Linked DNA regions of Homo sapiens: all the other regions are linked to region 2. The links are contacts of gene promoters, found by promoter capture Hi-C in human tissues and cell types (Jung and others, 2019). All regions are on one chromosome and are shown on one strand. Each heading gives the region's core, a stretch centred on a gene start or on the middle of the fragment in contact. The rest is flanking DNA. Distances are from core to core; before and after follow the strand shown.

Region 1 (3,241 bases), core at 584-3,083, 91 kb after region 2:
TGATAAAACAGACTTTAAACCAACAAAGATCAAAAGGGACAAAGAAGGCCATTACATAATGGTAAAGGGATCAATTCAACAAGAAGAGCTAACTATCCAAAATATATATGCACCCAATACAGGAGCACCCAGATTCATAAAGCAAGTTCTTAGAGACCTACAAAGAGACTTAGACTCCCACACAATAATAGTGGGAGACTTTAACACCCCACTGTCAATATTAGACAGATCAACAAGACAGAGAGTTAACAAGGATATCCAGGACTTGAACTCAGCTCTGCACCAAGCAGACCTAATAGACATCTGCAGAACTCTCCACCCCAAATCAACAGAATATACATTCTTCTCACCACATAGCACTTATTCTAAAATTGACCACATAATTGGAAATAAAGCACTCCTCAGTAAATGTAAAAGAACAGAAATCACAATAAACTGTCTCTCAGACCACAGTGCAATCAAACTAGAACTCAGGATTAAGAAACTCACTCAAAACCACAAAACTACATGGAAACTGAACAACCTGCTCCTGAATAACTACTGGGTAAATAACGAAATGAAGGCAGAAATAAAGATGTTCTTTGAAACCAATGAGAACAAAGACACAATGTACAAGAATCTCTCGGACACATTTAAAGCAGTGTGTGGAGGGAAATTTATAGCACTAAATGCCCACAAGAGAAAGCAGGAAAGATCTAAAATCAACATCTTAACATCACAATTAAACGAACTAGGGAAGCAAGAGCAAACACATTCAAAAGCTAGCAGAAGGCAAGAAATCACTAAGATCAGAGCAGAACTGAAGGAGATAGAGACACAAAAAACCCTTCAAAAAATCAATGAATCCAGGAGCTGGTTTTTTGAAAGAATCAACAAAATTGATAGACCGCTAGCAAGACTAATAAAGAAAAAAAGAGAGAGGAATCAAACAGGTGCAATAAAAAATGATAAAGGGGATATCAACACCGATCCCACAGAAATACAAACTACCATCAGAGAATACTATAAATTCCTCTACGCAAATAAACTAGAAAATCTAAAAGAAATGGATAAATTCCTGGACACATACACCCTCCCAAGACTAAACCAGGAAAAAGTTAAATCTCTGAATAGACCAATAACAGGCTCTGAAATTGAGGCAATAATTAATAGCCTACCAACCAAAAAAAGTCCAGGGCCAGATGGATTTACAGCCAAATTCTACCAGAGGTACAAAGAGGAGCTGGTACCATTCCTTCTGAAACCATTCCAATCAATAGAAAAAGAGGGACTCCTCCCTAACTCATTTTATGAGGCCAACATCATCCTGATACCAAAGCCTGGCAGAGACACAACAAAAAAAGAGAATTTTAGACCAATATCCCTGGTGAGCGTCGATGCAAAAATCCTCAATAAAATACTGGCAAAATGAATCCAGCAGCACATCAAAAAGCTTATCCACCATAATCAAGCCTGCTTCATCCTGGGATGCAAGGCTGGTTCAACATACACAAATCAATAAACATAATCCATCGCATAAACAGAACCAAAGACAAAAACCACATGATTATCTCAACAGATGCAGAAAAGGCCTTTGACAAAATTCAACAGCCCTTTGTACTAAAAACTCTCAATAAACTAAGTACTGATGGAACGTATCTCAAAATAATAAGAGCTATTTATGACAAACCCATGCCAATGTCATTTTGAATGGGCAAAAACTGGAAGCATTTCCTTTGAAAACTGGCACAGGACAGGGATGACCTCTCTCACCACTCCTATTCAACATAGTGTTGGAAGTTCTGGCCAGGGCAATCAGACAAGAGAAAGAAATAAGGGGTATTCAATTACGAAAAGAGGAAGTCAAATTGTCCCTGTTTGCAGATGACATGATTGTATATATAGAAAACCCCTTGTCTCAGCCCAAAATCTCCTTAAGATGATAAGCAACTTCAGCAAAGTCTCAGGATACAAAATCAATGTGCAAAAGTCACAAGCATTCCTATATACCAATAACAGACAAACAGAGAGCCAAATCATGAGTGAACTCCCATTCACAATTGCTTCAAAGAGAATAAAATACCTAGGAATCCAACTTACAAGGGATGTGAAGGACCTCTTCAAGGAGAACTAAAAACCACTGCTCAAGGAAATAAAAGAGGACACAAGCAAATGGAAGAACATTCCATGATCATGGATAGGAAGAATATCATGAAAATGGCCATACTGCCCAAGGTAATTTATAGACTTAATGCCATTCCCATCAAGCTACCAATGACTTTCTTCACAGAATTGGAAAAAACTACTTTAAAGTTCATATGGAACCAAAAAAGAGCCCGCATTGCCAAGGCAATCCTAAGCAAAAAGAACAAAGCTGGAGGCATCATGCTACTTGACTTCAAACTATACTACAAGGCTACAGTAACCAAAACATCATGGTACTGGTTCCAAAACAGATATATAGACCAATGGAACAGAACAGAGGCCTCAGAAATAACACCACACATCTACAACCATCTGATTTTTGACAAACCTGATAAAAACAAGAAATGGGGAAAGGATTCCCTATTTAATAAATGGTGCTGGGAAAACAGGCTTAGCCACATGTAGAAAGCTGAAACTGGATCCCTTCCTTACACCTTATACAAAAATTAATTCAAGATGGATTAAAGACTTAAATGTTAGACCTAAAACCATTAAAACCCTAGAAGAAAACCTAGGCAATACCATTCAGGACATAGGCATGCGCAAGGACTTCATGACTAAAACACCAAAAGCAATGGCAACAAAAGGCAAAATAGACAAATGGGATATAATTAAACTAAAGAGCTTCTGCACAGCAAAAGAAACTACCATCAGAGTGAACAGGCAACCTACAAAATGGGAGAAAATTTTTGTAATCTACCCATCTGACAAAGGGCTAATATCCAGAATCTACAAAGAACTTAAGCAAATTTACAAGAAAAAAAAAACCCCATCAAAAAGTGGGCAAAGGATATGAAAAGACACTTCTCAAAAGAAGACATTTCTGCAGCCGACACATGAATAAATGCTCATCATCACAGTCATCAGAGAAATGCAAATCAAAACCACAATGAGATACCATCTCACACCAGTTAGAATGGCGATCATTAAAAAGTCAGGAAACAACAGATGCTGGAGAGGATGTGGGGAAATAGGAACACTTTTCCACTGTTGGTGGGACTGTAAATTAGTTCAACCATTGTGGAAGACAGTGTGGCGATTCCTTAAGGATCTAGAA
Region 2 (3,131 bases), core at 258-2,757:
GCATATGTTCCCTAGATAGGACCTGGGTCGTCCTCGGTTCGCCCTTTCCGTGACACTAGCGTCGGACGGCTCTCCGCATCACGGAGTAGGGATTGCTGCCCGCCACTCCCTGTGTGGGCATCCTACTCCCTATCTCTCCAGAGCACGGGGATCTGCCTCTCTTCCAAATCTGGGGGGCGAGGGAGGAGCGGAGGGTCGGCATCCAGCCAATCACATGGCAATATGCAAATAGACACGACCCTGCCTTCTTAGGATTGGCTAACCCGTCAGCGTTATTGTCCAAGTCTCTCCTCTCTAAACACTGAGCTATTCCGGGCGAGGGTTTGCGGCTCTGGAGACCTAGGGGGAAAAAAGTCCTTTGGATCTGGATCTCTGAGCCGTCCCGGTCGGGCACCCTCCTTCCCCGCCCCGGCCCCACCCCCACCCCCAAGGCTCGAAGCTCCCGCAACCTTCGCTGCCTAGGTGTCCCTTCTAGCTAGGGCCAAGCCTGGGAAGACGCCCCCTTCCCTTGGCTGGCCAGGCCCCTCTCCCTTCCCGCAGGACCCCTCCCGGTCCCGTATCTCCCGGGCTGCACATATTTTTTCATTCATGACCCCCAGGTCTGGAAGGGCCGGGCGCCTGGGTCCGGTTCCTTCCGCTCCTCCTTTTCCTTGCTTGGGGAGGACGAGGTAGAGAAAACCAGGGTCCTGACTCACTTTCCCCTTTATATTCCCTCTGTCGTCACTAAGGCCCACTCCTCAGGAGCCCAGAGAGAAGCCGGTGGGTTGGTAGGCAAAGCAGGGCGGGGAAGGGGCAGCTGTGTGGCCCTCTCTGCCTTGTGGCTTCCCACCTTGTTCCTGTCTTCTCCAAATCCAGCCCCATACCCTGAATCCAGGGCCCTCCTCACACATTCTTTTCCTCGGATATGTGTCTTCCCGAAAGATCTTTCCTACCCACTCGCCTGTTCCTTGGTGAGCTGGGTGAGCGCATAACTTGGCGGGGGGTGGGAGAGAACCCGGGAGGAGGAAACACAATAGAATGTTCCCGAGGGTTAGGAACGTCGAAGTGGAGTTCAGAAACGCCCCCGGCCGAGGCCAGAAAGCTGGGCTCGGAGAGCAGGTAGAGCCGGGAGGCTGCGGAACACCCCAGTCTGTCCTGGGTCCCGGGGTCCCCACCCTCCAGGGTCCAGAGCCGCGCCAGGACAGCCGGACTCACCACCACAGTCCGCCGACGTGCGCCGGGCACAGGAGCAGCAGCAGCAGCAGCCCGAGGCGGGAGGGTAAGGGCGGCAGCATCGTGACCGCCCTACGGCCGCCCGGGTGGGCAGGGGGCGAGGCTGCGGGGCGAACCGCGGCGCGCGAGGGCCCGGGCTTCAGTGCGAGCGCGGCGAGCGCAACGGCGGCGGCCGGGAGGCGAGGGATCCGGCGGCGGCGGGGGGGCCCATCCCGGGCGAGGAGGGCGCGGCGGAGGCGGAGAGCGGACGGGGCAGCCAGCGCCTGTGTCTCCTGCGGAGCTCGCTCGGGAGAAGAAATCAGAGCCGGGGGCGGAGGTGGGAGGGGAGCGGGGCCGAGGCGGGGGCGGGGGGCAGGGGGCCGGAGGGAGGTGGCAGTTGCGACAGTCAGGCAGCGGGACTCTCGGGAGCGAGCCGTGCGCCCCGGGGCGGCTGGCGCGGAGCGCAGCGGAGGGCGGGAGCGGGGTGCCGGGGCGGGGCCCCAGCGCGCTTCGGGCTGTGGGACCCGCCCGCTTCGCCCCCTCGCCTCGCCTCTCTCGGACTTGGAGCCCCCCGCCGCTCGCGGCCGCCTGGAGTCGGGGGCAAGGAAGGGCTGGGAAGAAGAGTAGAGAGGGGTGAGGGGGGAGAAAGAGGAGCTGAGGAATGGGGGACGGGCTGGAAGGGAGACGTTTGACAGGTTTGTTGACTGTAAAGAGAGAAAACTTCCCAGGAATGAGGGAGTTTGGGGCGGGGGGCGGTGCGGAGGGAGATGCTGGCGCGGAGGCAAGAGAGGAAGTTGGCCTGGGGCGCGGGGTGCTTCGGCGAGGGTTGTCAAACTGGACCGCCCGACAGGCGGATGCTGGAGGGGTCATCTCTTTCCGTGTCCCTGTTCGATGCCTCATGCCCCTTCGTCAGCCTCTCCTTGAAGAAGGGAGGAAGCCCTGGGCCTCCGCTCTCGCTCCCCCAGCCATCCCACCTCTCAAGCCCGCGTTCTAGGGCGGGGAGGTGGGGGAAATGAGAGGGCAAGAGTAGCCGCTCCAGGGCGTGCGCGCAAGCGCTGGCACTTGTAAGCGAGCGGGAGAATGGAGGTCGCAGACTTTCAAGAGATCGAGGGGTCAGAATTCGCTTTAGCCCGGCCTCGCGTGTCCAAGAGTCCCTGCCTCGAGTTCCTCCCCCAACCTGGCCCGGGTAGAAGGGGTGGGAGAGCCAGCTGCAGGTGAGATGGCGTTTATCAGATTTTCTAATGCCACAAAAATGTCTTTGATGCCCCTGGCCCCCTCCCCACGAGGGGGAGATCAAAGGCTCCGTGGGGAAGAGGGACAGCTCCATTCATCATGCCATTCGGCTGGCAGTGGGCAGCAGCCCCTGCCCCTCCCGTCCCCGACGTGCCCCGGGGTGCCAAGGGACAGGTGGTGTGGGACATTCTCCCTGCCATACCATCAAGAGCAACCATCAACCTTTAAAGCTGTCCTGGAGTGGGGAGGACAGATCGAGTCCCTATGGCAGAAACGTCAGGCGCCCAGAAGAAAGCTCCTGGTTGTTGGTAGAGAGGGGGACCTGAATGTGGGGACTGAGGTCGCTTCCAAGAGAGTGATGACTGAGGTCACTTCCAAACAACCTTGGTGAGCAGAGAGAGAAGACAAGATCCTGAGTCACCCAGAGAGGGGGGACAAGTAGATCAAGATGAGGCCAAGGGGCCAAGGGATGTGACCCCAGGGGAGGAGGCTGATGGGGGAAGGAATGAGCAGACAGAGGTGAGAGAACTGGAGAAGTGTGGACTTGCCGGCAAGCAAGCTCCATGTCAGGGCCCTGGTGTCCAGGCTGCATCAGCTCAATCCCTTGCACTGGATACAGAGAGTTCTGGTGAAAGGGCTAGGACACACTAAAGAAGGGGAAGGGGGCAGGGGGCAGTGGCAAGAGTCATAGAGAGAGGGTCTGGTCT
Region 3 (3,277 bases), core at 502-3,001, 120 kb after region 2:
GCCACATGAAGGAATTATTATTCAGCATGGGCTTATAGGAGGAAGAGAGTGGAGATGGGATCTTCCCTGAGATGGCAGAGGCCAGGCTCTTCCCTGAAGGGTTTTCCCCAGCCGCTGCCAAGCAGAGGTATGGTTCTGTGGATGAGGAGGCCATGGGCTGGGCCATGGAGAAGACCATGGAAGAAGTGGCCTTGTTGGCAGTGAGACTGACAGGGAGGCTCTTTTGAGGGAGAGAAAAAGGGCTTTTTTCTGACGGGCTCGAACGCAAGCAGAAAGACTCCAGTTGCTGGTACGGTTTTTGCCTATAGCTGGAGCGGCGGTATAGCAGGGTGCTGTTGAACAAGTCCGGGAGAGAGTGTAGGTAACAGGAACTGCTGTGGCCTGCAATGACAGCCGTGGTCCCAGAGCTACATAAAGTGCTGGGGCAAAAGAAATATGCTGGCTGGGGTGGGACGCCCAAGAGGCCTGGGCCCAACCCTGCTGACAGTGTCTCCACTTGCTTCTTTTCCAGCTTCCAGATTGGCTTCACTTGCTGATGGGCCTGAGGCCAGACTCTGCCCTCCGAGGGTTTCTCAGGTGGCGTGGCAGGTACTGTGCCTGAGGGACCACTCTGCTTGAAGCTGTTTTTCTGGCGGAGGCCAATACTATAGTGCTGTGTTCCTGCTGAGGCCATGAGGGGCCCACATCATGGCCACACGGTCTCATGGCCTTGCTGAGGTAAGGTGCCACACACCTCCGGTAGTAGCAGCTGCATCCTTGAAGTCTGTCAGTCTGAAGTGGAGAGAAATGATAGGAAATGTTACAGTGCCAGGAGAACGGACACCATGCTACAGTGGTCCTCAGGTAAGCAGTACAGTCCCACTTCAGCATTTTTGGGCAACCAGTCTTGGTCGTCATTTGGGGCACTGGGAGAAGAACACCAGATTTCCAGGGAGTTTTCAATGATCTTCCTACTGCCCTCATAGGATCAAAGCTGGCTTCATTACGGACTAAAACACTGAGGTGCCACCACCACTGTGAAGCTGCTTATGAGTCCCCACTCTGTCACTCAGAAAGCTTTCCTCTCTCTCCAACAAAAAATACATCTTTCTGTCTCACCGCCCACAACTTTCCATGAGGGGCTACCTTCCCTCACCCAAAACCAGTGTGGCTAGGAATAAAGCAAATCTGAAGTGAGAGAGAGGACTCAGTATCTTCCTTCTCATAAATCAATTCTGAAAGATTAAAGATTATTTGAGTCCAGGTGAGGCAGCTCACACCTGTAATCCCAGCTTGAGCCCAGGAGTTCAAGACCAACCTGCCCAACATGGCAAAACCCCGTCACTACCAAAAATTAGCTAGGCATTGTGGCGTGCACCTGAAGTCCCAGCTACTGGGGAGGCTGAGGTGGGAGGATCGCTTGAGCCTGGGAGGCAGAGGTTGCAGTGAGCTGAGCTGGTGTCACTGTACTCCAGCATGGGCAACAGAGTGAGACCCCATCTCAGAAAAAAAAAAAAAAAAGACGATCTGAAAAACTCATTTTACATCTACTGCTCCCTAAATCAACTCAGCTGCCTCTGATTTAGTCTGCTTTTCATGGTTAAATAGGACAAGTTCAGACAGGAGAAGAGAATTCCCTTGCTGATCCCGGAGTTTATTCTGGAGCTGAGACAGCAATTTCATCTCTGCTAACTATACAGATTTAAATTCCATCCTGTGTGTTGGTGGGAAAAAGAAGAAAGGAAATTGAACTAAACACCAGCATTATTTTTACTTAAAGTGACTTTATTTCCAGCAGCCATACTGGGACAGGAGAGTTCAGGGAGTAAGAAGAGGACAGAAGCTTTCTTTACTCCAAAGCCCAGGCTTAAGTTTGGGCTGATCTCAGGGAGGAAGAGCCTGTCTCTTTTGCATCTTCTCAATCAGTGTTTCCTTTAATACAAAACCTGTAAGCCAGCCTTCTGGGTCTCAAACTGTTCAGCATGGTCACTTACTTTCTAAATCAAATTCACAAAATATTCTCCAGTAAGGAAAGGTGGGCCTGCTTTCATGGCAGCATCTGGGGGAAATAACAAAAACTGTAAAAAGTCATTCGTGGCCAGGTGCAATGGCTCACACCTGTAATCCCAGCACTTTAGGAGGCTGAGGCAGGCAGATCACTTGAGCTCAGGAGTTTGAGACCATACTGGGCAACATCGCAAAACCCCGTCTCTACAAAAAATACAAAAATCAGCCAGGTATGGTGGCGCATGCCTGTGGTCCCAGCTACCTGGGAAGCTGAGGTATGAAAAACGCTTGAGCATGGAAGGTGGAAGTTGCAGCAAACCAAGATAGCACCACTGCTCTCCAGCCTGGGTGACAGAGTGAGACCCTGTCTCACAAAAAAAAAAAAAAAAAAAAAAAGGCTGGGCACGGTGGCTACATCTGTAATCCCAGCACTTTGGGAGGCCAAGGCAGGTGGATCACGAGGTCAGGAGTTCAAGACCAGCCTGGCCAGCATGGTGAAACGCTCTCTACTAAAAATACAAAAATTAGCCATGCACGGAGGAGGGTGCCTGTAATCCCAGCTACTTGGGAGCCTGAGGCAGGAGAATCGCTTGACCTCGGGAGGCGGAGGTTGCAGTGAGCCGAGATCGCGCCATCGCACTCCAGCCTGGGTGACAGAGTGAGACTCTGTCTCAAAAAAAAAAAAAGGAGTCATTTGTCTGGGATAATTCTGAATGGAATCCTGACATTCTCATCAAGTGTGTTTTCAGAGTAGCTAGAGGGAAGGAATTTGCAGAGAGGTTTTGTTTTGTTTTGAGGGTCTTGCTCTGTCACCCAAACTGGAATGCAGTGGCACAAACATGGCTCACTGCAGCCTCAGACTCCTGGACTCAAATGATCCTCCCCCTTCAGCCTCCCAAATAGCTGGGACCACAGGCATGCATCACCACACACAGTTGATTTTTTTAAATTTTTTTATTAAGATAGGGAGTGGCGGTATCTCACTATGCTGCCCAGGCTGGTCTCGACTCCTGGCCTCAAGCGATCCTCCTCTCTCAGCCTCCCAATAAACTGGGATTACAAGCCTGAGCCACTGAACCCAGCCCTAGGAGAGATGGTTTTTTCGCTTAAGTTATATTTAAAATGCAAAAATGGGGAGAGTACCTTGTATTCTGATTAACAGTGTAATGGCCAAGGAAGAACTAAGATTCCTGTCTACAGCCACGAATGAATACCACCAACAAACACTGCAGAAGCCATGGGATATCGCCCTCTTTACCTGCAAAGGCTGACCTACATGGACTCTTTCTCA
Region 4 (3,140 bases), core at 273-2,772, 65 kb after region 2:
CCCGGGTTCAAGTGATTCTCCTGCCTCAGCTTCCCAAGTAGCTGGAACTATAGGTGTGTACCACCACGCCTGGCTAATTTTTGTATTTTTAGTAGAGACGGGGGTTTCACCATGTTGGCCAGGCTAGTCTCGAACTCCTAACCTCAGGTGATCCATCCGCCTCAGCCCCCCAAAGTGCTGGGATTACAGGCGTGAGCCACTGCACCCAGCAGAGTATTCTTAATTTATGGCAATATAGTTGTTTGCATCAGTGCAATAAGAATCCATTTTTCTTTTGCAACAGGATGCAATTGGAGAAACTGTTGTTTTACCAAGGCTTTGACTAGAAAGGTATGCTTCCCTTTAAGGAGTCAAGCTCGACTTGCCAAGCCAATAAAAGCCCCTTTTGGAAAAGAAACTGGCCTTATACCCTCGACTACACAGTCCCTGTACAGGGTTCCTGACCCGTGGTCAGTAAAGAATGTCACTTTCTAACAGGCCCAGGAGCTCCGAGTTTATCTTGGGACCTTAAAGGAGAGGATCACCCAACTCACAGGTATTTAAGGATACAAACCCATGGCTGGGCTCAGCTTTAAAAGGTCTTATCTGAGCTTCCTTTTGGAACAGAGTTCCATCAAAGCCAATCTAAAAGGCCTATGTAGAAATAATTATTCTTGCTGTACTTTATGCAAATAATCAGGCCAAGTATAAGACTAAAGTCTACTTTGCAAACAACTCAGTCCTATTATGATTTTTTTTAACAAAAATGAGGACTGGAGAGAGAGAAATTATGTTTCAAAACTTATACATTTGTAATTAAATTCTAAACTCATTCATTGTTCTTAAGTTTTTGCCTACATTTTAGACTAACCCTGCCTGCTCCTGTGAACCAACCAGCAATCTTTGGCTGCAGCTCAGATGGATAATGTAAAAATCTGGGTCAATATTCTGGTTCTGAGCAATTATCCTGCAAATCCTGTCAGGTGACAGGAATAAGTAGGATGCCCATCACTTGGAGGTTTCCTTTTTGGGAAAGGAAGACCAAGGGAGCTAACCAAAACCAAGCACCATGCACCCAAGTCTTAGCAAGCATAACCATAGCCACCAGTTATCTGGGTGTGTCACAAGACATCCCTTTCTCTCCCTTGTTGCAGGAGGACTCGATTCCACAGTTTCACCTTAGCATTTGGCTTATGATAAGAAGTCCATGCAACACCCCCTGAGACACAATTTTGTCCCAAACTCAATTCCAAGCTTCGGGTCAAAGCCCTAGGAAAGAAAACTGGATCTACAGGATCCAGAGGCAGATGATAACAGAGGTTAAAAGGCACAGCACAGGTGAGCATGGCTAATTTCTGCTGATTAAGCCAAGCCTCTCATTTCATGGATAAAGTCATGCTAGTATCCATGGCATAAATGAGGTCTAGGGAACTCCAAGGCTACTGACACTAGTGGGAATAGAGACATAGGTGAGAGTGGATAATTCCTATTCTCTAGGCCCTCCCTGCTTCATGGGTTCAGGCCGCTTTGACACCCATGGGTGGCACCCTGTCGCAGTTGTCAGGATTCAGGGATGCAAGGATGGAAGAGGGAAAGAGAATACTCTTCCTTCTCTTCTTCATGTACCCCAGATATTTGCTAGGAAGAGAAGGGAACCAGAGATGTCTGCTCCTCTCTTTTCTAGATGAGTAGCCATTCTTCTTCAGTCTGTACCCTTTCAAATGCATCCTGAACCCCTAGGACCCCTTTGAAAAGGAGCCTTCTTTTTTCTTTTCTCCTCCTCTGTCCTCTCTTCACTGATAGGTAATTGTGGCTCTGTACTACAGGACACTCCCCTCAGATGCATCCTCCAAACTGGGAAAAGTTAATTTCCCAAACCTTAAACTGGCTGGTTCAGGATTGGGCTCAAGGGAAGGGAACCCAGAAGCCCAACACGCCGGCAAAAGGGTAAAGTTTTTTTTAACCAGTCAGGATTTTGGCCTCCCTCTCCCTGGGCAAACTGGTAAAAGGCCTTGGGATTTTTGAGCTGATCTTACCCGCCCTTTTCTCCTTTTGATACATGTTTTCTAATAACCTGGTTTGTCTCTTCTCACCTTCAGGCCATCAAACTCCAAATGGTCATGCAACCAGAGCCTCTGACAATGGCCCGTTTTGCCGGGGACCCTTAGGCCTCTGAGGGAGATATGACTGCCATTTTCCCAAAACTATGCCCGCTGTCAGCAGGAAGCAGTTAAGATCAATCTTCATCCTTATCCCAATCCTTATTCTAATGGCAGTTAGAAGTACTTCTTTAGAGTGGGGAATGAGACAGCCAAGTAAAAAGAGGTCCCTGGAGAAACTCCGACTGGTCCGCGCACTGGGGTGGAGCCTCGGGAGGTTTACCCGTTTGCAGAGGGAGGAGCTTGTCCTCTCCCGTACCAGGGTGGTAACCTGGGGATTCAATCTGTGAGATGGGGGCCTGTTAACAGGCACCTCTCTAGCTTTACTGAATTTTTTTCCTTTTCACCCAATAAATTCCATTTTTCTCACCCTTCTATGTGTCCGCGAGCCTAATCTTTCCTGGTTGTGTGACAAGGACCCCATTTTTAATTGAACTAAGAAGAAAGTCCTACAACAGCCTGGCCAACATGGCAAAACTCTGTCTCTACTAAAATACGAAAAATTAGCCAAGCATGGTGGCGCATACCTATAATCCCAGCTACTTGGGAGTCTGAGGCATGAGAATTGCTTGAACCTGGGGGCGGAGGTTGCAGTGGGCCGAGATGGTGCAACTGCACTCCAGCCTGGGTGAAAAAGTGAGAATATGTCTCAAAAAAAAAAAAAAAGAAAGAGAAACTTGGGGAAAATGTGAAACAAAAGGTTTATGGAAATGTGTGGTTTAAAAGATGACAAATTTGATAAATGTATTTATGAAGTTTTATTAAAATTAGTTTTAATATGATAATATACTAATACAAAAGTGAAATATTTCTCTTTTGGATAAAATTTTCTGTAGTGTTAATAAGACAGTAAAATATTTTTGTTCACTTTTTACATAAACTGCAACAAGAAAAAAGAGAGAGGAAAGAAGAGATTCTGTCTCATGCTGTCTTATGTCTTTTGATTGTTCGGAAAACTGAGTCTCCTTTATCAAAGAGTACAGGTTTTTTGTTTTTAAGTAT

Evidence for each region. The method cuts DNA at HindIII sites, captures the fragments that hold promoters and counts their contacts. A contact is called where the count stands out against the background at its distance.
Region 1: a fragment that was not itself captured here is called in contact with the fragment with the promoter of WNT6 in region 2 in 6 of the 25 tissues and cell types used here (H1 embryonic stem cells, bladder, mesenchymal stem cells and 3 more).
Region 3: a contact is called between a fragment that was not itself captured here and the fragment with the promoter of WNT6 in region 2, in 3 of the 25 tissues and cell types used here (H1 embryonic stem cells, liver and spleen).
Region 4: a contact is called between a fragment that was not itself captured here and the fragment with the promoter of WNT6 in region 2, in 4 of the 25 tissues and cell types used here (H1 embryonic stem cells, IMR-90 fibroblasts, liver and 1 more).

Annotation. Positions count from the first base shown.
Region 1 is chr2:218,767,222-218,770,462 of GRCh38, reverse strand. No RefSeq gene overlaps it. Among named protein-coding and RNA genes, the nearest start is that of CYP27A1, 13 kb to the left of the region's middle. The HindIII fragment of the contact is 7,453 bases long and covers 1-3,241 here.
Region 2 is chr2:218,858,181-218,861,311 of GRCh38, reverse strand. WNT6 (Wnt family member 6) reads right to left here and starts at 1,507. Exons shown (of 4, transcript NM_006522.4): 1 at 1,195-1,507. The coding sequence starts at 1,274. The HindIII fragment of the contact is 31,874 bases long and covers 1-3,131 here.
Region 3 is chr2:218,735,073-218,738,349 of GRCh38, reverse strand. TTLL4 (tubulin tyrosine ligase like 4) reads right to left here. Exons shown (of 20, transcript NM_014640.5): 3 at 1-771. The coding sequence starts at 673. Among named protein-coding and RNA genes, the nearest start is that of TTLL4, 26 kb to the right of the region's middle. The HindIII fragment of the contact is 3,995 bases long and covers 1-3,277 here.
Region 4 is chr2:218,793,382-218,796,521 of GRCh38, reverse strand. The region is part of intron 1 of CYP27A1 (cytochrome P450 family 27 subfamily A member 1); the gene reads right to left. Among named protein-coding and RNA genes, the nearest start is that of CYP27A1, 13 kb to the right of the region's middle. The HindIII fragment of the contact is 6,304 bases long and covers 1-3,140 here.